3 separate regions of the Homo sapiens genome follow, and all the other regions are linked to region 3. The links are contacts of gene promoters, found by promoter capture Hi-C in human tissues and cell types (Jung and others, 2019). All regions are on one chromosome and are shown on one strand. The core of a region is centred on a gene start or on the middle of the fragment in contact, and the rest is flanking DNA. Distances in the headings are between cores, read along the strand shown. Region 1 overlaps PCSK5 (proprotein convertase subtilisin/kexin type 5). Region 2 overlaps PCSK5 (proprotein convertase subtilisin/kexin type 5). Region 3 holds the start of PCSK5 (proprotein convertase subtilisin/kexin type 5).

Evidence for each region. The method cuts DNA at HindIII sites, captures the fragments that hold promoters and counts their contacts. A contact is called where the count stands out against the background at its distance.
Region 1: a fragment that was not itself captured here is called in contact with the fragment with the promoter of PCSK5 in region 3 in 2 of the 25 tissues and cell types used here (lymphoblastoid cells and mesenchymal stem cells).
Region 2: a contact is called between a fragment that was not itself captured here and the fragment with the promoter of PCSK5 in region 3, in 1 of the 25 tissues and cell types used here (mesendoderm cells).

What each region holds. Positions count from the first base shown.
Region 1 is chr9:76,196,714-76,201,420 of GRCh38, reverse strand. The region is part of intron 20 of PCSK5 (proprotein convertase subtilisin/kexin type 5); the gene reads right to left. Among named protein-coding and RNA genes, the nearest start is that of RFK, 200 kb to the left of the region's middle. The HindIII fragment of the contact is 3,635 bases long and covers 1,190-4,707 here.
Region 2 is chr9:76,236,016-76,240,750 of GRCh38, reverse strand. PCSK5 (proprotein convertase subtilisin/kexin type 5) reads right to left here. Exons shown (of 38, transcript NM_001372043.1): 23 at 1,586-1,792; 24 at 67-135. Among named protein-coding and RNA genes, the nearest start is that of RFK, 160 kb to the left of the region's middle. The HindIII fragment of the contact is 5,301 bases long and covers 604-4,735 here.
Region 3 is chr9:75,887,751-75,892,562 of GRCh38, reverse strand. PCSK5 (proprotein convertase subtilisin/kexin type 5) reads right to left here and starts at 1,890. Exons shown (of 38, transcript NM_001372043.1): 1 at 1,190-1,890. The coding sequence starts at 1,381. The HindIII fragment of the contact is 15,443 bases long and covers 1-4,812 here.

The sequences.
Region 1 (4,707 bases), core at 1,758-4,257, 310 kb before region 3:
CATTTACCTCATCTGTTTCCTTATTTGTAAAATGGAGATAGAATCAGGCTATTGGAAGTACTGAATTAAATAACCCATATGAAGCCTTTAGCTCAGCATATAGGAAGTACTCCGCATATGGGGGTTACTGTTTTCATTGTTAGGGAAGGGAAGTGCTAGCACATCATGTTTTTTCCTTTTGTTCTTCTCTGGTGATGACAGTTTAGAGGGCTAGGGGATCTTCTCTTAGGAGAAAAAGATGGTACTGAGCAGGCTTATGGTCCCAAGTCCAGTTTTGCAAACAGGCCTTGCCAAATTGTTGCTCTGACTGTGGACATCACAGTGAACAGAAGCTGTGGGCTGCTGCCTCTCATGTGAGCTTGCACCCTGTTCTTTCGTTCAACTGGCTCAATACAGCCATCAGTGCCTGGGGACTGAGCAAATCTGGCCGCCTCAGCATTCTGTCTGAGTGAATGCTTCTCAAATATGTTGGCAGGAGGCCAAGAGTTGACTTGATGGGGTCCTTGGGCAAATCAATTAGCCTCTCTGAAAAGAGGGTTGATGACATTGATGACAAGAGGGTGGAGGAAGGGAAACAGTCCAGCGAAGGTTCTTTACCGGTTGACCCCACTCATCTCTCCATCCTTTCTCCCAAGCTGCCTGCCCTGCTCATCCCCTGCCTGGGCCTCCAAGTGATCGCCGTCCACAGGACCCTTTCAATGGCTTTGTGCCTTTGCTCAGGTTCTCTCTCTCGAATATCCTTCTTAAACATCATAACCTTCTTTGATTTTTAATTTCTTGCTTATCCTTCAAGGCCCAGGTCAAATGTCACTTCTCTCGGATGTTTTCTTATTCATTCATTCCACAAATATTTCTTAAGCAAGGCATGTGCTGGACATGTAAGATACAGCTGTGAACAAGACAGATGAAGCACCAGCTCTCACGGGGCTGGCTGACAACAAGTAACGAACCATAAAATGTCATGTGGTGAGTGCTATGGAAAGTCAAAACGAGGTGGGCAGGTGTGGGGTCAGTGGTGGAAGGAACTGCTCAGAGGAAGTTATTTTTGAACTGAGACCTGTGGGATGAGAAGAAGCCAGCCATGTGAAGGGCAAGGGTCCTGGGTCCCAAACAAGCTGGTTTTGTTTGAAGGATGAAAAGAAAGTTGGCATGACTAGAACATGTGAGGGCATGGGGGATGGTGGTGTGAGGTGACAGCACAAAGATCTCAGGTAAGGAGTTCAGATTTTATGCTCAGTAAACAGAGATGAAATCTGATTTTCCATTTGTAATGGCACTATGCTGTGTAGGGAACTGATTAGGGAAAGGAGAGAAAATAGGAGAGGAGAGGGAGAAGTCTGGGAGCTGGTTCGGAGGCTGTTGCAGCAGTCTGGGATGGCAACAATGGTGGTTTGGCCACAGTCACAGCTATGGAGTGGGCAGAAGTAGACCATTTAGAGATATATTTGGAAATACAGTGAATGCCATTTACTGAGGTGGGAGAGATTTGGTGGTAAAGATGGTCAGGGGGTTGGGGTGTCTGAAGTCTATTTTGGACGTGTTAATTTTGAGATGCCTATTAGACAGCTGAAGGGAAATGTCAAGTAGTTAATTGAATCTACAGGTGTGAATCTTGAGGGAAGAGATCAGGAATCTATATATATTTTAAGAGTCATCAGCATATAGATGGTATTTAAAACCATGAGATTGACAAAGATCTCCTTGGAGAGAGTGTAGAAGGCACAGGGAAGAAGTGAGGATGATATCCAGGAAGACATCCACATATTGCAGTCCCGTACGCTGCCCTTCCACGCCCCACCCCAGTGACCTCCCTGACCACCACCAAGGATAGGACATATCTCTCTCTCCTCTTTTCTGTTCCCTAGAGGGTGAATAGTGACTTCCTCCCTCCTTTGCAGGGCTATGAAGATTCTCAAGATCCTAGATTCTCCAATCTCTGCAGGTCTCACATCATATCAAGCATATTAAAATTCACCTTTATTCTACATTAACATTAATTATAGTCATGTACCATATAATGACGTTTTGGTCAATAACAGACTGTATATATGACAGTGGTCCCATAAGATTATACCATATATTTACCATACCTTTTCTATGTTTAGACACACAAATACTTACCATTTTGTTACAACTGCATGCAGTATTCAGTACGGTAACATGCTGTACAGCTTTGTGGCCTAGAAGCAATAAGCCATCCCATACAGCTTAGGTGGGTGGTAGGCTATGCCATCTAGGTTTGTGTAAGTGTGTTCTATGATGTTTGCATGATGACAAAATCACCTAAGGATGCGTTTCTCAGACATATCCCTGCTGTCAAGTGACAATGGCTGTAAGTATACTTTCTTAGTTGCAGTGGACTAGTTTGACATGATCCACTTTGTAGATATTTAATAAAGATATCATTTGATTTTGATCTTTGCAGTTTTATTTGTACATTTTAGAGTCAACTCCATTTTTAAGGTTTCATGCTATTTTTGGAAGTCCTTGGGAAGCTTGTAGTGCAAGGGCATGGAACCTTAGCACGTGATTAGTGAAGTGAGCTTGCTCCTTTGACTCCTGACAATATTTTATACCCTTTAAAGGCACTTAAACGGATTCACATTGTAACCATGTGTTTTATGTCTAAGTGTCTGTTTCCCTCATTAGACTATAAGTTTGAAGAGGGCAAGAGAACACTCAGAACCTAGTTTGTGGCGGGGACTCAATAATATTTATTTATGGAAGCAACTCTTTTGGAATGAGAAAAAGTCAAGCCCAGGCACACAGTGTGCTTTCTATCTTCACTTGAGAAAAGGCTCTTACCCCCTTGCCTTGCAACATATGTGATGTGGACTTGCTTTTCTCCAGCACTCTTAAAAAGGAATCAGTGTTGTACAGAATGTTGAAGCTGTGGGCTTGAGTCCCAGCCACACCCCTTAACTAGCTGTGCCTCTTGCATCAGAAAATGAATGTCTATCGGCCTGATTTTTGTGTGGGCCAAATTAAATAAATCCATTTTAGTAAAACTCTGTGAAGCTTAAAACACTGTATTTTTAAAATAATGTACTGTTTTCTAAAATGAAAAAAGTAAAAGATCTTACAACTCAAGCCTCAGGGAACGTTTCTGGAATTTTCTAGAAAGTGGGATACAAAATATCTTTTGTTGCCTGACACCTGGCCCTAAAAAAACCACAACTGGATCCAACAATGGTCCTTTAGAGAAGAGACCTTGTAAGAAAGTCCTTTGGTAATAAGCCAGTCAAACTGTCCTTGTAAGTCCCTTGGAGGTAGAGAACGGGAAGGAGTGCTGGCCATCCCAGGTCACATTCTGGTCCGCTGAAACGTAGTGAGGCTGCATAACTGCATCTTTATTGCTCAATAACTGAATCTGGACCTGATCTTCACCTCTAGTGATGAAGAGGAGACAGGATTATACAGATTAGCCCCATTTCTAGGTGCCAAGTAGTTCTAATGAGCTACAGTGAAATTAAGTCCACCTTGGCTATGCCCTGCTAAATATGTCAAAGGCTCTAAAGTATTCTGTGTGAAAACTTCAGATTTCATGAGTCTGCAACAAACATAACATTTAGAAAGGGATGTTCACCAGAGAAGAGAAGAAGATCTGTGCCGTCTTCTACACATATTGGGCGCAGGGCCCTGGGCTGGGTGAGGTCACACTGCAGCTGTCCTCTGTTCCACCTCTACCATCTTGTGGTTGGGGACAGAAGGAGGGGGGGTATTAAATTGGCTGAGCCATAGTTTAAAATTGCCTCCAATATGCAATTTCTGTTCAACACATTGCCGTCTGCCATTGCTCTCTCTGTGCAAGGCTGAATGATAATATGGAAGCTGTTAAGAATGAATGTCTATTTTATATTTTAGCGGCATGACATTCTTTTTACATGAGGGGGATAAGATGTTATGTATTTATTTCCATACTCAGATATGTTGCAAGTATTGATCACTTTGATTGAGAAACTTTAGTAGTTACTATAGCAATCACTTCCCCTTCTTTACCAAGTACTCAGTTTGTAAGTTCTTTAAAAATGAAGGGTAGCTTATTCAGCGGAAAATAATGAATCTGGTAGAAGAGATCAGCAGTGTGACAAGCCTCTGATAACTGGAGTGGAAAGTGAGTGATAATTAGCAGTCTCCCATGGATGTGGGGATTCAGAATGGACACACTATCCTTCTTCTACAAGGTGTACAAATGTAGATTTTTCTGGACTAAACCACCAAATTTTGAATCACTGTTCTTTGTAGCAATAGATAATTAGATTAAAACCATGAGAACATCTTACTTCCCTAAGCACCTTGTATGCAGCAAGTTCACTGGTAACTGGAGCAAGTTCATTGGTAATGTTCTTCCCGCTCTCTTCCTGTCTTCCCAGGTAAGACTCATCCATGCTTCAGGGACCAATTCTAGCTCTACCTGCTTTAGGGAACTGACCAGTCCAATTCAAAGGAATCTCTGCCTGTTCTGAACTTAACAACTCAGTGTACCACTCATTTGAGATTTGGCATGTACTACTTGCTGTTAATTGTCTTAATGTTAAATTGTATTATTATTATGAATCTGGATATGGAATCTCAATCAATTTGTTTCAAGTCTATGTGGCCCAGTTTTCTCATGTGTAAATGGAGGATAATACATTCACCTCTAGAGGAGTCCTTCTGAAAATTGAGAGAGAACATATCCACATCAGTGTGTATATACCTACTCTA
Region 2 (4,735 bases), core at 2,005-4,504, 350 kb before region 3:
GATGAAGATGTGTGGAAAAGGACTTAGCTATTTCAACTCTTTAGGTGACAAAGGAAGAGGACATACCCAAGCTGCATCCCAGACATCCTTCTTCACAAGGGACACATTCTTCATAGTCTGGGTCTTGGACTTCACCTACACAGACAGAGAAGTGAAAAACACAACTCATTTCCATTGAGTGGAGACACGTTAATTGCTACAAAAATATGTTCGTGTGTAGCTTATTTTAAAGTAAATCATAGAGCAATTATGAAGCCCAAAACCGTCCTCGAGGATATATGTGGTTTCTACTTTTTAATCTCCTTCTATTAATTGAATAGATTGAATCAGCTTGATTGGGTACAAAGAGAACCAGGTTGGACCATATGCCATGCAGCTCATTTTGAAGTCAAGCTCATTGATTTTATTTATTAAAGAAGCCAGCTCTGCTTCTGGGAAAATGGAATTGGGTATGTAAATGAACAGGTTCTTTTTCTCTTTCTATCTGTGCTACTAAACACTTTTTAAAAAAGTTTAAAATCTTTTACTACATTCATAAACATTAAGGAGAAACAGAATTGAGTGTCTTAATTATGCTAAAAATGTCTTGGAGCTCTCTTCAGCACCAGACCGGGCATAATTCTTATACAGAGCAGGGCAATAACAGTCCGTGGCATTCTTACATAGAAGAGAGCCGAAACTATAAGTGTTGTTTTTTAATTTCCTTCTTCCCATAAAAGATAAGAAACTGGGCAATAACAATAACACATACGATTCACAGAACATTTTAATATTTTCAAGTGGTTTTAGGCTGGTCCTCACTGGCTTCTCAAAGCCACTCTGTCTTGATGCTGTGCTCTTCCTTTGACAGATGAAGACACCAAGGCATGGGCAAATTAGATGAGTTTTGCCTAGGGTCTCATGTCTAGTAATTGGGAAGGAGAAAACTGTTGACCCAGACTTTTGGATTCGAATTTTATTTTCTCTCACCTATATCCTGTCCACAATCCCCCCACCCGCCAAGATCATTTTCTTTTTCTTTCTTACTTTTCTTTTTTTTCTTTTTTTTTTTTTTTGAGATGGAGTCTTGCTCTGTCTCCCAGGCTGGAGTGCGGTGGTGTGATCTCGGATCACTGCAACCTCTGCCTCCTGGGTTCAAGCCATTCTCCTGCCTCAACCTCCTGTGTAGCTGGGATTATAGGCATGCAACACCAAGCCTGGCTAATTTTTGTATGTTTAGTAGAGACAGAGTTTCACCGTGTTCCCCCAGGCTGGTCTCGAACTCCTGGCCTCAAGTGATCCACCTGCCTCAGCCTCCCAAAGTGCTGGGATTACAGGCATGAGCCACTGCACCTGGCCAATTTTCTATACACTTAAGTGCATTCCTATGACCTTGGATTATATCTGAGGAAACCCAGAGAAAGGGTGTGTGAACAGAGAGGGAGAGAGAAAGTTACCTCTCTCCCCACTAGGGTTGGGAGTCACCCAAAATCATCCCAAGTGCTGACATGCAAGCCAGGAAGGCAATTCAAGTCTCCAGGACATCCAGGGTGCAGCCCCTCCTCCCATGTTCGGGTGCTGGGCAAGGGCCCAGGAGCAGGCTTACCTTGTCCACACTCTAACTTCTGGCATGTGTGGTTGGTGGGCGCTATGAAGTAGCCCTTCATGCATCTTGTGCAGACATGCACGCTGTGGCAAAGCTCACAGTTGTCTGGGCAGGGCAGGCAGGTGTTCCCCTCAGTGGCATAGTGGCCCTCTGGGCAGCTATCTCCACACTCTCCCTGGTACAGGAAGTGCTCTCGGCCATAGTTGTCTGATCAGTTACAGGGGCAACGAAAAGAGGGAAAATGTACAAAGTTAGCCATGAAGCTATTATAATGTAAGATATTATATTTTAAAAAGATGCGACTGAGTGCTTTTTTTTCCTAGTGGATGAGGGGTGTAAGGATGGATTTAATGAAAAGTGCAATAGCTACATCCTTGTAGTTGAGAAGTTTTCCTTGCAGGGAATTATTTTCCAATATTTTATATATTTCAGTGAACAGCGACTACTATCTGGGATGTCATTGCAAAATGATGCTCTGTGAATAACTACAATTCACATTGTGTTTAACTACAATTCAAAATGTGTTTAACTTTCCCAAAGGCTCCTTTTGGTATCTGTGAAAGCTCTCAGACTTGGGGGCTATAGAGAGCCCATGAGAATAAACACATGCATAATGATCGACACTTTTTATGAAAGTGCAATCTTTTAAAATGATTTTGAATTGTTATCGGTCACATGCTTGCGTTAACCATCTAAGGTCTGAATTTCTGCAGAGCTGCCAATGCCGATAATGACAAGCTTATTGAAGCACTAGACCAAGCACACTTCTTTGACTCTTTTACGTGCATTCCTGAGGGTTCCTGACTTTTGTCAACATTGGATTCTATAAGGAAAGAATCAGCAGTGCCCACAGCCTAACAGACCATGGGAATTTGTTTCTGGAGGGAATGAAAAAGTCTAACTAGTTACAAAGCATCACAATTAGTTACAAAGGATTCTAATCCGTTAGGAATACAAAAACAACAATAAGATGACTACTGATGCATCTAGAGGTCTCCTACTCCCACCCTCCCGGAGTTTTTGTGCTGAGTGTGCTCGGGGTATCCATCTTCTCTGAATCAGATTTCCCACATGTCCCTGCCTCTGAAGAGCAGCTGATCTGTGTTACTCAGAATAACCGGGGTCTAGGGTTCATTCGTCATGTGATCTACCACATGGAGATCCAGAATCATTGACCTTCAAGATGCAAGGCTGCTGAATTTGTGGATAAAGATAGCACTAACCCCATGTTGCAAGTGCAGAAACTGAGAGTCAGTATAATGTTAAATTGACCCACGTGAAATTGCCGATATTTAACTATTTTTTACCTGTGAGCATGGCACTTTCACATCATTTATCATAATATTTCTTATTTATTCAAAGCCATAGTTGAAATACATTTTCTTTTTTTTGAGACAGGGTCTCACTCTGTTGTCCAGGCTGGAATGCAGTGGCATGATCTCAGCTTACTGCAACCTCCTCTCCTGGGCTCAAGTGATCCTCCCGCCTCAGCCTTTCAAGTAGCTAGAACCACAGGTGCGTGCCACCATGCCCAACCATTTTTTTTTTTTTTGTATGTTTTGTAGAGATAGGGTTTCACCATGTTGCCCAGGCTGGTCTTGAACTCCTGGACTCAAGTGATCTGCCTGGCTTGGCCTCCCAAAGTTCTGGGATTACAGGCGTGAGCCACTGTGCCTCGCCTGAAATGCAATTTTTAAAACATGCTTTTGGATTATGGGCTCTCAAGCTACCTATTTTGCTAATTGTGATTTTCTACTAGAAGGCTACTGGTTCCCATAGGACTAAGAAAATAAAAAGGGCTTCCACAGAGGTGGTGGAAGAAAATATTCTGCTGTTTCTAAATTAGACATAGAAGAGATTATCCTCTAAGGAAAGAAGAGGGTTTGGAAGGACTAATGTGCATTTGGTGATTCTATAGCTATCGATCAACATTGTGGAGCACAAGACTCTGATCTGGTGGAACCTGGAATCTCTGAAGATCACAAGAGGGTCATCCTTCCAAGTTATGTTCTCAGCCACTTTATGAAACCGTTGCAAATGCCACTTCCATCCACCATGACTCATTCAGAAAAAAATCTTTTTTTCAGAGTTCCCCAATTTCTCTGGTGTAGGTAGGAAGATTTGAGGGAGAGCAGTGAGGAAGTCTACCTCTTCTCCATCCCCTGCACCTTCACAAGACATCAACTCAGGATCCAGATGCTTAGAGGGAGTCTAAGGCTCTAAATATGTATTTGTGGAATTTGGCAATATTCAATTTTTCCCCTATATCCAACTGGATCATCAATCTTAAAAATTAGCAACGACGGGCCCAGATTTAGAAGGAAGTGTTCTTCAATCCCATTTTTATTGTTTGGACATGGCTTTATTGAGGTGCCTCTTTGGGTGTTATAATTTGGGTTTAAAGAACAGAGATTTCAGGGGGTCTCAGTGTTTAAAATACATAGACCTACAAAGGGAGGTCACTTAGATGCCTTGGCCATGACCAGCTTTTCCGACAGGTTTGGTCCAGGACTATGTCAAGATTCGGTCAGATTTTGAGTAGCCCTGCTCAATTAGTTATGGATGATAATTTGGATAGCTCAGAAATTTAAATACCATGCATAAATTTTTGGCTACTTGCCCAGGGTCTTCGACTTTAAATTATTATAATAGTATGTAGACGAAGCTATTTCCAGCGGTAGAAGGGCTGATACTTTTGTTAGGCACCAAAAACTTTCCTGGGAAAACAGGCGACAAGAGTTCAAATGGGATAATAGGGGACAAGAGTTTGGATTGGCTTTTGTTTATTCTGGAGAGTAATTCACTTTTACCAGAGCATTTCTTGGCAGCTGATTCTGTTAGGTGAGAAAGTGGACCAGCATGATGATATTGGATGTCCATAGAAGAAAAGAAAGGGTGAGGGTTGAAGGCATGAGGCGAAAAGGACTGCTGGAAAGGATAAAAGAAAGGTGCAGGGATTCTGAAAATAAACTTGATGAAGTTGACTACCACATTTTGCTTACTGTAGCTGTTGTGTGATTGATGGAATTTAGCTTTGGGTAGTTTGGTAGTGAATAAATCTGGAAGAGAATTGGAGTGAATCCTCAGCAATATAGCTGGAGATGTACACTTCCAAGAGGCATCATACCTAAACCTTAATGAAGTCACAAT
Region 3 (4,812 bases), core at 641-3,140:
AGAGCACGCAGGGTGCGTGCACCCCGGGCAGTCCCCAAAGCGCGCCTGCTGGAAAGGCGCCATCCATCATCCTCACCTCCCATTCCAGCGGATTCTCGCCTGAGCCCAGCCAGGGCCCGCCCCTCCGGCCAACCCCAAAGATGCTTGCGGTGTGTATGTGGAGGGGGGTACTTTCTGGGACCCACTTTCATAGCCCTCTCTACCCCCATTTCTCGCAGGGGTGTCGGGGGAAGAGAACCAGAAAGCCAAGACCACTGAACCCGGAGTACTTCCAAATCTGTTACGCTTCCAATCATCCTCATAGCATCACCTTAGTTTATGGGCATTTCTCCCTAGCAGGAGAGCTCTGCCAAAAGCCCGAGAGCGGCACCCCACAAAAACCCCGCGCCCCTGCTGCCTGCCCAACTCTCGCCCCACGGCGCAACCTCCCGGCCCGGCACCTTCCGTCCCGGGGTAAGACTCCTCGTTTTCCCGGAGCGGAACCCAGCCAGCCGGTTTCGGAAGTTTCCCACCTCCCCACTACAACTCCCTTCCGGGAGCCCCCACGCGGACCTCGCTTAAGGCGAGAAAGCCTAGAGGTCTCCCCTAAATCTGCACTCACACCGGGGCCGGCCCCCTCTTCCCTCCCCCTCCTTTCTCCTCCCTTCCAGCTCCAGTCCCCGCGCCTCCGGAGTCTCCAGCGCCAGAGGTTCTCTCGCCCAAGAGGAAACTTCTTTCTGGGCTAAATTCAGGTCCGAGCAGGAAAGGCTTTCCCTTCCCCGCAGGCATCAGAGGCGCGCTCACCCCCTATCCCCCAAAAGACCTAATTTCCCCCTCTCCCCACGATCACCCTCTCTGAGACTGCCTCAGATTACTAGTGCTACTCGACTTTTCAGGTCAAAAGGTCCAGCCGTCTCTGAAGCCACCACGGGGGCACTCTGGATTTTTCCCGAGACCCTACCAGTCCCGCGTGGCTTGGAAAAGACAAGTAAACAAAACACGGACCCGGCAACTCTGGGGTGTGTGTGTGTGTGTGTGTGTGTGTGTGTGTGCGTACGCGCGCGCGCGCAGGAGACAGAGCATCGCCCAAGAGTTAGGGCAACAGCTGCTAGAGCACATCTGGAAGAGGGGGAGGGGGTTCCACGCAGAGGGGACAAGAAGCCCCCAGTGGCTTCAGGGCCGAGGGCTGGGCTAGCCTGTAGTTCGTTACCTGTCCTATGTTGATGAATCCGTACTTGCTGGCGATACGGTTGGCCTCCGGGAAGCCCCCGGCGATTTTGACTGCCCAGTGGTTGGTGTAGACGCGCGTCCGACACACGGGGAGCAGGCAGCCCCCGAGCAGCGCCAGCACGCACAGCAGGTCCAAACGTCCCGGGCAGCAGCAGCGGCTCCCCCAGCCCATGGTCCCGGCGCCTCGCTGCTCCCTCGCTCGCTGGCTGGTTCCGCGCACTAAGGGCGCGCACAACTAACTTCTCCGGCCTGCGCCGCCCGGCGAGCAGCCCCGGGCCGCCGCAGCTCGCAGCCCCGGGCGATCGGCAGGAGGCGGCTAGCCCCGGCAGGGAGCAGAGCAGCGAGCCTTACGCCGGCTCCTAGACCATCCCTGGGGCTGCCGGGACCTGTGCTCCCAGCTCTCCGGCCCGTGGGGCGCTCGGCGATGCTCCCCGGCTCGGACGCAGGAGGAGGCTGAGTGGGGCGGGCGTCCTCCGCAGTTGGGTTTCGCCCGGCTTGGCTCCCGGACTCTCCGACTCGGTCTCGCTCCTCCCGGGGCCCCCGAGCGCGGCGGAGATGACCAGCGGGAGCGGTACAGGCAGCGACCGGGCGCCCCCTCTGCTGGCCCGGGCTCCAAACGCTCGCTTGCTCGCTCCCAGCGCTCCCTCCGGCTCCGAGCAGCGCGCGAGGATTCTGAGTGGCAATGGCAGCAGCTCCTGCTCTGCATAAATGACTTCCCCCGCCCCCCTTAACACCCCTCCTTTCCCACATCGCCCTCCTCCTCTCCCTCCTCCGCCCTCTTGAAAGCGGCCGCAGCCAGGCGCTGACGAGGTCCTAGCGCCTCCGGGTTCGCCCAGCTGTAACCTCCAGGGTTCCGGGCAGTAAAGGCAAGTCTTTCCAAAGGACTGAGAAGAGCGCTCCGAGATCGTGGTTTTACTCCCTTCTCTTCCCTCCCTGCTGGATTTGTATGAATTTACCGCCACTTCCCGAAAGACTAAAGAAATTTACACGCCGGTGCGAATTAACCGCCCTGAAGATTCATTCATCCTCGTTCTAAACGTCCTTAAATAACTAGGCATTTAAGGAGGTCACTTACGTGTCAATTGCCGAACAAATAACTCGAGATTTTCACTTCGTTAATTCTTCATGCTTTTCAGCAGCTGTTTATTTTACACTTTCTGCTCCCGGGAGAAGCTACCACACAGGACAGTAAGTCGCATCGACTCCTAGAATTGGCTCGAAAGCCAAGTCTGTTGCCTGCTCACTTTCGAAATCTGCGATACTAGGCAACGCCACGGGAGAGTACAATTCCGGCCTTGGAAGTGAGGAAAGATGTTTCTATGAATATTTGGTGTGCTAGTGGATGGACATGTTGGGCCAAGGAAATAACTCCATTCATTTGTTGGATTGCGTCTGACGAGGGCTTCTTTTTCTCCACCAAGGGAAAAGTTTCCCAACTTTTCCAAGCACAGTCCTGTAACAGTGAAAGACTTTAATATGAAAAAGACCACAGAGGAAGTTCAGATGAGATATGTGGCGGCGTCACCTTCATTACTCTATCATGCACTGTGACTGCAGCAGGCAGGAGGGAGCTCAAATTAACCCTCTTCTCGCTTCTCCTTTACAACCTCCCTGCCTTCCTGGAGCGGGGGTGGGGCACAGGGTGATTTACTGTGACAAGAAAAATTATCCCGTATGAAATAATTCAACTGACTTTAAAAGTATTCACTATATCCCTAACTGTCCTCCTTTCTCTCCTCCTACCATGCCCTATTTCTTTCTTCCTGTTAATTTAAATGTGTTTGAGATTAATTAACTCATCCCACCTATAGCTTTTGGTACTGATTTTTTAAAATCTGAAAGATACCTGCAGACTTAAAATTCCACTAGTACCTTTGAGCATAGCATTTGACATTTTACATATTGTATAAGGTATGCTATATTATTTAATCTTGAAAACAAACCCACAAAATAACATCATCCCCACATTATAGCTGAAGAAATAGAAGATCAGAAGAACTAAAACATGTGCAGAAGTGTATGTATTTTATTCGTTTATTTATTTGACTGATTCAACACATCTGTTTTGAGCACCTAGCATGTGCAATGAATTGTGCTGTACACTGGAGAAAGGGGAAGGGGGAGGCACAAAAAATTAGTGGAATTCAGAATCTCTGAATACTGTAGAGTAAATGTGGTTTATTATTGAAGGTATGTATGTATGTATGTATGTATGTATGTATGTATGTATGTATGTATGTATTTTTGAGACAGAGTCTCGCTCTGTCGCCCAGGCTGGAGTGCAGTGGTGTGATCTTGGCTCACTGCAGCCTTCGCCTCCCGGATTCAAGCGATTCTCCTGCCTCAGCCTCCCCGAGTAGCTGGGATTACAGGCTGGCTAATTTTTGTATTTTTAGTAGAGACAGGGTTGGCTGGTCTCGAACTCCTGATCTCAAATGCTCTGCCTGCCTTGGCCTCGCAAAGTGCTGGGATTACAGGCATGATCCACCATGCCCGTCCTATTATTATTATTATTATTATTATTATTTATTTATTTATTTTTTTGAGACGGAGTGTCGCTCTGTTGCCCAGGCTGGAGTGCAGTGGCGCGATCTCGGCTCACCGCAAGCTCCGCCTCCCGGGTTCACGCCATTCTCCTGCCTCAGCCTCCCGAGCAGCTGGGACTACAGGCGCCCGCCACCAGGCCTGGCTAATTTTTTTGTATTTTCAGTAGAGACGGGGTTTCACTGTGTTAGCCAGGATGGTCTCGATCTCCTGACCTTGTGATCCGCCCGCCTCGGCCTCCCAAAGTTCTAGGATTACAGGCGTGAGCCACCGCTCCCGGCCCTATTATTATTATTTTTAAGAGGAAAACATAAGCACTATGCTTGTGCTTTAGAGTTTTGGTACAGTCTCCCTGCTAGCCAGTCCCTGTAGACACATCTCTTCCTGCTTCCCTAGCCATGGAGTCCGAAAGCTCACAATCTATTACAACACTGTTAACTCTGACAATCTGCATCTATGCATAGGGACATTGGATTACCCCTCTTGAAGATGGTAAATTTCAGATGGGATAAGACTTCAGTCAAGGTCCACATCTCAATACACATATAAGGGACAGTCAATCTCTCTTTTTTTTTTTTTAATTCAGAATTGTGGGCATTTCAGGTAGGAGGAAGGACCTGTCTCACCGTGATCCACAGAAGGGTTGCCACTACATAAGGTACTTTGTAACAAGTTTGAAGGATGCCGTACGGGTTTCTCTCTGGGACTCTGGAGCTGTTAATTGTTTAGGACTACAAAGGCAGCACAAAATGCTTCTCTTTCAAAGCCTTGTTGTCTCTGGGCTTCAAATTCTGAATGAAATGGAGAGGAATCACTGCACCCGGTTTTCTGGAGCCTGGAGATTTTTTTCTTGGGGTGGAAAAATTGATCATTAATATTTTTTTCTCCATGGTGTCTTTCTCTTTTTCTTTCCACTAGCACTCTTTCCTTCTGTGAGCATGCCCTGGTTGGCACACACAAATGTAACATTCACTGCATTGAACATGAGAGAAAATTGGAAAATGAGGTAGGAAGTGGGCAAACCACTTTTCTGCTTTGTAAACTAATCCCTGGGCCAGC